2 separate regions of the Homo sapiens genome follow, and region 1 is linked to region 2. Evidence: promoter capture Hi-C in 16 types of primary human blood cells and fetal thymus (Javierre and others, 2016). All regions are on one chromosome and are shown on one strand. Each heading gives the region's core, a stretch centred on a gene start or on the middle of the fragment in contact. The rest is flanking DNA. Distances are from core to core; before and after follow the strand shown. Region 1 overlaps CDCA8 (cell division cycle associated 8). Region 2 holds the start of DNALI1 (dynein axonemal light intermediate chain 1).

Evidence for each region. Contacts are between HindIII fragments. The CHiCAGO score rates a contact against its expected background, and 5 or more counts as called.
Region 1: a contact is called between a fragment that was not itself captured here and the fragment with the promoter of DNALI1 in region 2, in 2 of 17 cell types (fetal thymus and monocytes). The highest score is 5.6, in fetal thymus.

The regions. Positions count from the first base shown.
Region 1 is chr1:37,698,534-37,703,329 of GRCh38, reverse strand. It overlaps CDCA8 (cell division cycle associated 8), which reads right to left. Exons shown (of 10, transcript NM_001256875.2): 4 at 4,353-4,425; 5 at 2,809-2,894; 6 at 1,512-1,576; 7 at 1-78. Among named protein-coding and RNA genes, the nearest start is that of CDCA8, 8.4 kb to the right of the region's middle. The HindIII fragment of the contact is 3,522 bases long and covers 1,676-4,796 here.
Region 2 is chr1:37,554,408-37,559,163 of GRCh38, reverse strand. DNALI1 (dynein axonemal light intermediate chain 1) reads right to left here and starts at 2,224. Exons shown (of 6, transcript NM_003462.5): 1 at 2,089-2,224; 2 at 1,416-1,561. The coding sequence starts at 2,169. It also overlaps the pseudogene RPS27P9. RefSeq lists enhancers at 2,142-2,436, 2,647-3,617. The HindIII fragment of the contact is 2,071 bases long and covers 1,380-3,450 here.

The DNA of each region.
Region 1 (4,796 bases), core at 2,187-4,686, 140 kb before region 2:
GTCAGGCCTGGAGTTGGTTTGACCATGGACACCTCCAATCGGCCCACGGCTGGGGTAACAGTGTTAGCACGGCTTGACCTACAGGTAAGAAATGGCCATCAGGTATGCCAACTCTCAGGTTCCACGAAGGCAGCAGCAGAGGAGTGACACGTGGAGAGCTGACTGTGAGATACTGCTCCGGGCGCCTCGCACACATCGACTCACGTGACCCTTCTAACACGGGAGGCCAGCACTGCTGCCATCCTCATACACAGATGCAGAAACTCAGGTGCATCAAGTTTTAAAAACTTGCCCAAGATCACATATCCAATTAGGATGGAGCCAAAACTTTGAACCAAAGTAGTCTGCCTCCAGAATCTGACTTTTTTTTTTTTTTTTGAGACGGAGTCTTGCTCTGTTGCCCAGGCTGGAGTGCAATGGCGTAATCTTGGCTCACTGCAACCTCCACCTCCTGGGTTCAAGCGATTCTCCTGCCTCAGCCTCCCGAGTAGCTGGAACTACAGGCATGCACCACCACACCTGGCTAATTTTTGTATTTTTAGTAGAGACAGGGTTTCACCATGTTGGCCAGGCGGGTCTCAAACTCCTGACCTCAAGTGATCCACCTGCCTTGGCCTCCCAAAGTGCTGGGATTACAGGTGTGAGACACCACACTCAGCCTCAGAATCTGACTTTTTAATCAAGGAGACAGCCTCTTCATGCGAAGGCTCCCCCAGCTGGAATTCTGTCCTTGTGCCAGGCAGCTGCTGCACTGCTCAAGAGAAATGAGTTCGCTCCTCCACAGACATGCATCCCGGTGACTACTCTCCTAAGCTGCTGTACCTTCCCCCACATGGCTTATGGTAGAGTCCAGTATAATCAACTCAAGCCCATAGAGGTTCTTCACTTTGCAGGACTGGACAAAACATTTCAAGAAACCAATTATAGGTAAGTGACAGCCACTCTATGACGAGCTATGGGGTAGCTCTACATATGGACTATCAGGAACTGAAACATAACAGGCAGTTCTTGCTATACTTAAAAAAAAAAAGTGGGGGCTGAGGTGGGTGGATCACCTGAGGTCGGGGGTTCAAGACCAGCCTGACCAACATGGAGAAACCCCGCATCTACTAAAAATACAAAATTAGCCGGCATGGTGGCACATGCCTATAATCCCAGCTACTCGGGAGGCTGAGGCAGGAGAATCATTTGAACCCGCGAGGCAGAAGTTGCAGTGAGCCAAGATTGCACCATTGCACTCCAGCCTGGCCAACGAGATTGAAACTCCGTCTCAAAAAAAAAAAAAAAAAAAAGTGGGGAAGGATAGAGAATGTACATTAAAGTACTGGAGATGGTTTTGGTTTAGGTCATTTCTAGAGACCCCTCCAGCTTGGATACTCAAGGATTCAGTGATTTTAAGCTGCTTTCAAACACTAGCCACCAGAGCCTTTTCACTGCCCCTCACTTTCTGCCATGATATATATGGCTCTCCAATAAAACCCAAAACACCACAACTTTAGAAAATCCACTACCTTTTCCCTTTTCCTTTTCCTTGTATGGACTGAGTTCTCTTCTTGGATGGAGGACACCTTTTGACCTGCAGTCACAATCAAATGAGACTAAGGTTACAAAAAACCCAGCAAAGAGGAAGGTAAGGAGGGTTTTTTTTTTTTTTTTAAAGCATTAAGAACAAGCTTTGGATAGTTAATACTAAATATAATAAGGTGTATCTCAGAATTCAATGACTTAAAAAGTTCAGAACATAACTAATTGAATAAGGACTTCCACTGGCTGGGTTTTCAAAATAGAGGATTTTGACCAAGATTAAAGGTAAATCTCTTTTGAACTGATTGCAGCCTGGCTTGTACCCCACTACTTTACATAAAGGGCTGCTGTGAAGGTCACTCAGGGCGTCCCAGGTGCCCAATCAAAGGCAAACCCTGCAGTGCTCCCTTCCTGGGGCCTGGGAGGTCCCTGGCAAGAATCACTCCTTATCTTCCATATATTCTCTCCTCCCTTGTCCTCCGTGATGGATCTGTCTTTCCTGCTTCTCTAACTTCCTTGGCAGTCTGCCTTAGGAGCTCCTCTCTCTACCCTCCCTCTAGTGTCCACCCTGACTCCCTCCCTTCCTGCTCTCCCTGCACAACCATCTCCACTCCCACACTGGGACAAACACCTAAAGATCTGGGAGGCAGTGTATCTCTCAAATCTCCCTCTTCTCCCTGAGCTCCAGGCTGAAATTTCTGTCTAGCCTAGATGTCCTGGAAAAGTAATGAATGGTCAACATGTCATGCAATTGGCATGTGCTCCACCACCCCCAGTCCAGCACCCTCTGCCACCTGGGTCCCACACCTCACTGGATAGCATTTGCCTTAGCTAGAAACCATGCAGTTGTCTCTGATTCCTCCTTTTCTCCACCAACCATGCCACTTCTTTCTAAAACCTATCTAAAAACCATCCCTTCATTCTATAGTGTCAGCATGTCAGTTCAAGAATTCATAGGCTTCTAACTGGTTTCCTCATCTTCAGTTTTCCGCCTCCCCCATCTATCCTGAATACTGTTCCTCTTCCCTTTCTTCTCTAGCTAGTAGACTCTCACTCACCTTGAAAGGCCTGTCTATGTCCTAGTGGGGTAGGGGAGGCTTGCTAGCTTCCTCTTCTGTGTTCTACACACTTTGCACACCAGTCAATTATCTCTTTTGTCATTGCCATGTAAAGTAGGATCATCTCTACTAAACTGTGAGCTCTGGTGTACAACAGTGTATTTTATGCATTTGTATTTGCTTGTCTTGTGATAACCCCCAGCCTCCAACCTCAGTGTCCACTTACTCTTGCAGTTTGAAGATTCTTACGTTCATTTTCTTCTTCTTCTTCCTCTTCCACTATCATTTCATCTACCTGTATTACCTTTCGTGCTGTAAGAAACAGTTTCAACAGGGTGGTATTTCTGATGAAAATAAAGTTTTGTGCATTCACATTTCTTATAGGAATAAAATGTACACAATCTTAAGCTGCAAGGAAGAAATGGACTAAAAATAAAGAAGACTTTTTAAGAAAGAGGGTTTAGACAAAGGAAACTAACCAGAGTGTTAAGAGACCCCATATGATGCTTTGTAGGGACAGCCCAGCATTCTGAATAATTGAGCTTGCCCTGCCTACTGTAGAGCGTGCCCTGGTGTGTAGCCCCGAAATCCTGGCCATGGGTCAGGATGTTCTTATAAGAATTGGATGCATCAAACTATCATAGCTTAATGACAGTGACATTAAGTCCATGTCACAATTCATCCTGATCCGATTCCTTGCTCACTAGTCAAAACCTGGTTTCCCATACAACTTTTCCTATAAGACAGTGTTTCTCAGAGTGCGGGACATGTATGTAAGATGATTTTATGTGGATAGATCATGGAATTGAGTAACTTTTTTTTTTTTTTGAGACAGAGTCTCGCTCTATCGCCCAGGCTAGAGTGCAGTGGCATGATCTCAGCTCACTGCCAGCTCCACCTCCCGGGTTCACGCCATTCTCCTGTCTCAGCCTCCCAAGTAGCTGGGACTACAGGCGCCCGCCACCACGCCCGGCTAATTTTTTGTATTTTTTAGTAGAGACGGGGGTTCACCGTATTAGCCAGGATGGTCTCGAACTCCTGACCTCGTGATCCACCCACCTCGGCCTCCCAAAGTGCTTGGATTACAGGCGTGAGCCACCACGCCTAGCTGAGTAACTTTTTTTTTCCTTTCCTTTCCTTTCCTTTCCTTTCCTTTCCTTTCTTTCTTTCTTTTTTTTTTCAGAGACAAGGTCTCACTACATTGCCCAGGCTGGTCTTGAACTCCTGGGCTCAAGTAATCCTCACAGCTTGGCCTCCCAAAGTGCTGGGATTACAGGCGTGAGCTACCGCACCTGGCCTGAATTGAGTAATTTTGAATTATATGCAGAGAAAGTCATTCCTTTTTCAATTCGCTTTCAACTTTGTTGATTACATCAGGGAGCGTCTCAGTTGGTGTTACCAGTCTTTTAACACCTCTCTAAATCTTGTCATCTATTTAACCCAGGAGAAAGTAAGCAGGCAACAATGTTTGGTTTCTAGCACAGCTTTTTTCCCCCCTTTTTTCACTTTCATTTTAGCTCGCACACGGGTCTTGAGTTTGGTTTTTAGCAGTCCTGCCTAAAATTAACTAAATTTCTGGTTTGAATTGCTGTTCGGGGGAAAAAAAATTAACTAAATGCACCATCCAAAAGCAAGTTTTTGGATTTACAAGATTAAGAACCAGACATTAAAGGGAAGAGGCTCTACCAACAAGGCGCTGCCTGAGCAGCCAACCAAGCAACCTGAGCCTCAGTTCTTTCTGTACAACAAGGAGTTTTGAAAGGTACTCACTTTTGGCAGATTTCAGGGGTGTCTGAATAGCTTCTGCTGTTAGTTTGTTTATTTCGGTGATATCCAGGTCAGCCTATGACAAACATAGCCAGAAAGCACCAGGCTTATTCCACCAAAATATGAGGAACAATATTTCAAGATAAAAACTTTTTTAAAACTATTATTTAATACATAAGACTGTTAAATGTTAGTGATACAATATACAATATAGCAAACTCCCATAAACCCACCACACAGCCCAAGACCTAAAACATTGCCAATAACTTGCTTCTGGCTCTGTATTCATTCCTTGTTCCATTTTCTTATCTCTTCTTCCAAAGGTGATGAGTCTCCTAATCCTTCATTCCCCAGGGGTAACCATATCATTGCACTTGCTTTATCGAAAGGTACATGTGTATGTGCTCACAGATACATGCATATGTGTGTATACATGTGTGCACACAC
Region 2 (4,756 bases), core at 975-3,474:
CACCCACTATGCTGCCTCCACAGGGATCTTGGGAATGGGTAGGTGGTAGACAATTTCCACCTTGGCAACGGGCCTCTGTGAAATCATTCCCCACTGTTCCAGATCTTACCCTCCTAACATGCTGAAGACCGATTTATGGTTGTTGCTTGATGTGAACAGTAGGAACTACCCACCAACTTACGGGGTGGGAAACACAGGACATCATGAACCTTGTGCGAGCCAGAAAGAGGCAGATGTGTGTATCGGGGTGGAGAGGTTCATGAAGGTGTGTGCCTGCGTAGGCCCCCATTTCCCTTTTCCTCATAGCCTTACCAACTGTGCTGTCAACTTATTACATAAAAATAGATGAAAAGGCATGTCCTTTTATCAATGTGGCTGCAGAAGAAAAAAGCAAGAAAAGGAGATCATGTTGGGCAGGGGTGCTCTGCTATAGCAAATTCTCAAGGAAGGCCTGGAAGAAATGAAAGGAACCAGGAGAATATCAAGGGGAGAACATCTTTGGCAGTGAAAACACCAGCTGTCAGGGCCCTGTGGTAGGAGAGTGAATGAGGCATTTCAGAAATAGCAAGTGAGGTCCCTGTGGATTCAGCACAGTGAACAAGAAACAGAATAACAGGAGATAAGGTCAGGGATACATCGTAGGCCAGATCATGCCACATCTTCCAGGCCATTGTAAGGATTTTTGATTTTAGTCTGAGATGGGAAGCCACAAAAGAGTTTCTGGCAGAGACTGGCATGATCTGACTTATGACTTAGGGGCTGTATGGAGGATAGATTCTAGGAGCAGAGTGGAAGCAGTGTTTTCAGATAGGAGGCCACTGCAGCAGTGCGAGTGGCCACCAGTGACTAGGAGCAAGATGGTGGAAGCAGAGGTGGTGAAAAGTGGTTGGATTTGGGAAAGAATTTGAAGGTGGAGCCAAAAGAATGTGACGAAGGATAGGACACATGCTGTGAGAGTGATCAAAAGGAATGAAAGGTGGTTTGAGTCCCTAGTAAAAAGGAGAATACGGGGGATGAGCAGATTGGGGAAGGAAGAAATTGTGATTTAGTTTGAATATATTGAGTTTGAGATGTCTATTAGATATCTTCATGAAGATAATGAGGAAGCAGAAGACTATATGGTCCTGGAGTTTAGTGGAGAAGACAGGGCTGGAAATACACATTTGGGAGCCATCAGCACATAGGTGGTATCTAAAGCCATGAGATTGGGTGACAGCATGCAGGAAATGAGGGTAGATTGAGAAGAGGTCTCCCACCACCCTGCCAGGATCCAGCCATATGTAAGTTCTAGGAGCTCTGTGATACTGGGAGGAAACCCCAGCCAGGAACAGAGGCAGAGTGCCTCCCCCCACACTCCCAAAATCCACGATGTAAAAGCTTAGGCCTTCTCCCAGCCACTGCTCCTACTTTCTTACCTTGGGGGTAGTATGGCATTCAAGATTTCTTCTGCCTGCTTTGTAGGATCTGGGACACAGGGAGTTGAGGGGAGCTTGGTCTTGGGTGGCTGTGGGGCTGAACCTGAAGGTCCAGGCTGCTGGGGGCTGACTTTCAGTAGCCGAGCCTGAGATGAAGGCACAGGTGAGGGCAGGAAATTGTTCAGGAGCTCAGCTCCACACATCCCCAACCTGTATATTGCTCCAGGTCTTCTGCACAGCCCTCCCCTCTTCCTAGCCTACTTTGGGTCGGTCTTCTCAGCAGAAATTATGTCACAGAGCTGAAGGAGGCCATGAAGTCTGGCCCCAACTCAATGCTTGAACAGGTGTTTCTGGCGCATGTGCTTTCACACCTCTGGTGATGGGGAAATCACTACCTAGTCATCTGTTCTTGGACCCGCGTACCATTAAGAAGAGTGAGCCCCATCCATCTCCCTGTGACCTCCTTCCCCATCCTAAATCTGCCCTCTGGGGTCACACCCAACATCTGGGCTTCCTATACAATCCTCTCACCCTCCTTCTCTGACTTCCCAATTCCCTTTACTCCCAGTCGCTGCAATCCCCGTCCCTTGAGATTCCTGACCCTCCATGCGGGAATGTGTCTTTCCCTATCGGAGTTTCGAGGCTCCTTTGTCTCCCGAGCCCCCGTCTTTACCTTGGGGCTCCGTTTCTCCGTGTTCCGGCTCACCAGCACTGGGGTGTCGTACTTGAGCAAAGAGTCTGCGGGCGGAATCATGGCGGAGGCGAGAGTAGCAACCCAGCAGCTGCCCTGTCCAGTGTGGGCCTTGTTTGCCGTCACCATGGAAACCGCCCCCTCACTCCCGCCCCCGCGCTTCTTGGCCTGGGCGGAGCTTCGAAGTGGGGCGGGGCCAACAGCCGGCAAGTTTCATTCTGTGCCTCCTGGGCAGAAACCTCTTGTGCCTGACTTCTTAGGCCTTCTGCTCACCGGTTCGTCCCTGTACTCTTGGAGGCGAGGAAAACGGCAGTTCGAGTCCCTATGCTCCGTCTAGCTAGCGATTTGAAGTGGGCAGATCACCTTTGCCATGCTCCAATTTTGTCACCTGAAAAACAGGAGTCATCTCCTGACTTCTCATGAAGGGTTAAGGGACAATTCCCAAAGGAAGTCATCTGGAGTTCCTAGGTTTTTTGAAGGTTTTTTTTGTTGTTGTAGTTGTTCCCAAAATGTGTTCATTGAGATTGTTTCCCACTCATCTTGATTCAGAGTGCTTTTAGTGCTGCTTCCTCCTGAAGGAACATCCTTCTGTAAGCCTTACTTTTCCTCCTGTAGGCTGGCAGAGGACAGTGGAGCAGCCAACACACAAAACTGCCGTTTGTGCATGGCTAAAGACTGTGGTGATTTTATAGCATCCTGGGCATTTCACATCCATGAAGTAGGAATTGGGGCTCTGCACCAGGCGTTTCTTCTTGTGTTTCCTCTTCTCCTCTTCTGGGGAGGGATGAAGGAGATCCTTTGCGAGAGGCATGTTCTCGTGGGTAGGTCGTCACCGCAAGAAAGGGCTTGTTTTGATTTTTAAATTGAGACGGAGTCTCTCTCTGTTGCCCAGGCTGAAGTGCAGTGGCGTGATCTCGGCTCACTGCAACCTCCGCCTCCCGGGTTCAAACGATTCTCCTGCTTCAGCCTTCTGAGTAGCTGGGACTACAGGCGCGTGCCCCCATGCCCGGCTAAATTTTGTATTTTTAGTAGAGACGGGGTTTCACCACGTTGGCCAGGCTGGTCTCGAACTCCTGACCTCGTGGTCCGCCTGCCTCGGCCTCCCAAAGTGCTGGGATTACAGGCGTGAGCCACCGCGCCCAGCCTGAAGTATTTTTCTAATTAAATGGAGAAATGACAAAGTAGGAGCCAATGGGAAACCTCCCCTTTGCCCCCTGAAGATTCGCTCAAAAATCAATTCACAAAAGGCAGATTAATTGGAGAAAAGGCATACAAATGTATTTAAAATGTATACACGGGGAGAATCACAGTATGATTACCCACCCCGAAAAGGGTTCAGAAGCTTATATACCCTCCTGGTAAAACAGGTTTGTGAGGGTGGGAGAAGGAGGAATTCTGTTCAGGGATTACTAGGCAGAATGAATGAATAAGGGAACAGAGATAAATTTGTAAATAGTTTTTTGTGTTTTTTTTTTTGTTTTGGTTTGGTTTTTTTGAAGACAGGGTCTCACTCTGTAGCCCTGGCTGGAGTGCAGTGGTGCCATCACGGCTCACTGCAGCCTCCAACTCCTGGGCTCAAGCGATCCTCCTGTCTCTGCTGGGACCACAGGCACGAGCCACTAGCCCCTGCCAAATTTAATTTTTTTGTAGAGACAGTCTTGCTATGTTAGGCAGTTTGGTCTCAAACTCCTGGCTTCAAGCGATTTTCCTGCCTTGGCCTCCCAAAGCGCCGGAATTACAGGCTGCAGCCACCGTGCTCGGCTGTAAATAGCTACTTTTGACAGTATAAGGGTCTCTGGTCAGGTGTGATTACATTCTTGGGTGGAGAAGAAAGAAACAATTATTCCTTTTGGTAGTCTGGATCTTAGGCAGATAAAGACCTGTGCTTTGGGAGAGATGATGGGCACTGGAAAGGAACATTGAGGCTTCTTCAGTTCAGCTTGTCAGTGAGCCGTATTTTGGGGTTTTGGTTTCTGAGCCCCAACAGCATTGCAGAAAGTTCAGGAAATAGAAGAGGAAAAGCTAATGATTTGAAAAGCTAATGATTTGCCCATGGGTTATCATCTCTGATTGCATTTCCATTTCTTCCTCCCTTCTATTTCCAAATGTAAATGTAATTATAGTTTGCACACAATTTTGTATCCTGCTTTATCGTTAACAAGTCAGGGTTTTTAAAGTTTGTAAATGGTTTACTAATGGCCACATAACACCCATTAATTTGGCTAACTTCCCTACTGCTGGTATTTACATTGTTTCCACGTTTTGTAATTACTAATAATGTGGCAACAAACAGCCTTGAGAGGTTTGCTTTTTCCCAGTTTTTGTTGTTGTTTGTTTTTGAGACATCTCGCTCTGTTGCCCAGGCTGGAGTGCAGTGGTGAGATCCCTGCTCACTGCAACCTGCGCCTCCAGTTCAAGTGATTCATTTGCCTCAGCCTCCCGAGTAACTGGGATTGCAGGTGCGCGCCACCACACCCGGCTAATTTTTGTATTTTTAGTAGAGACGGGGTTTTGCCATGTTGGCCAGGCTGTTCTCTAACTCCTGACCTCAGTGATCCGTCAGCCTCGGCCTCCCAAAGTTCTGGGATTACAGGCGTGAGCCACCACTCCCAGCCAGAAGTTTGTTTTTGAAACTTGAAACTCCCGCCAC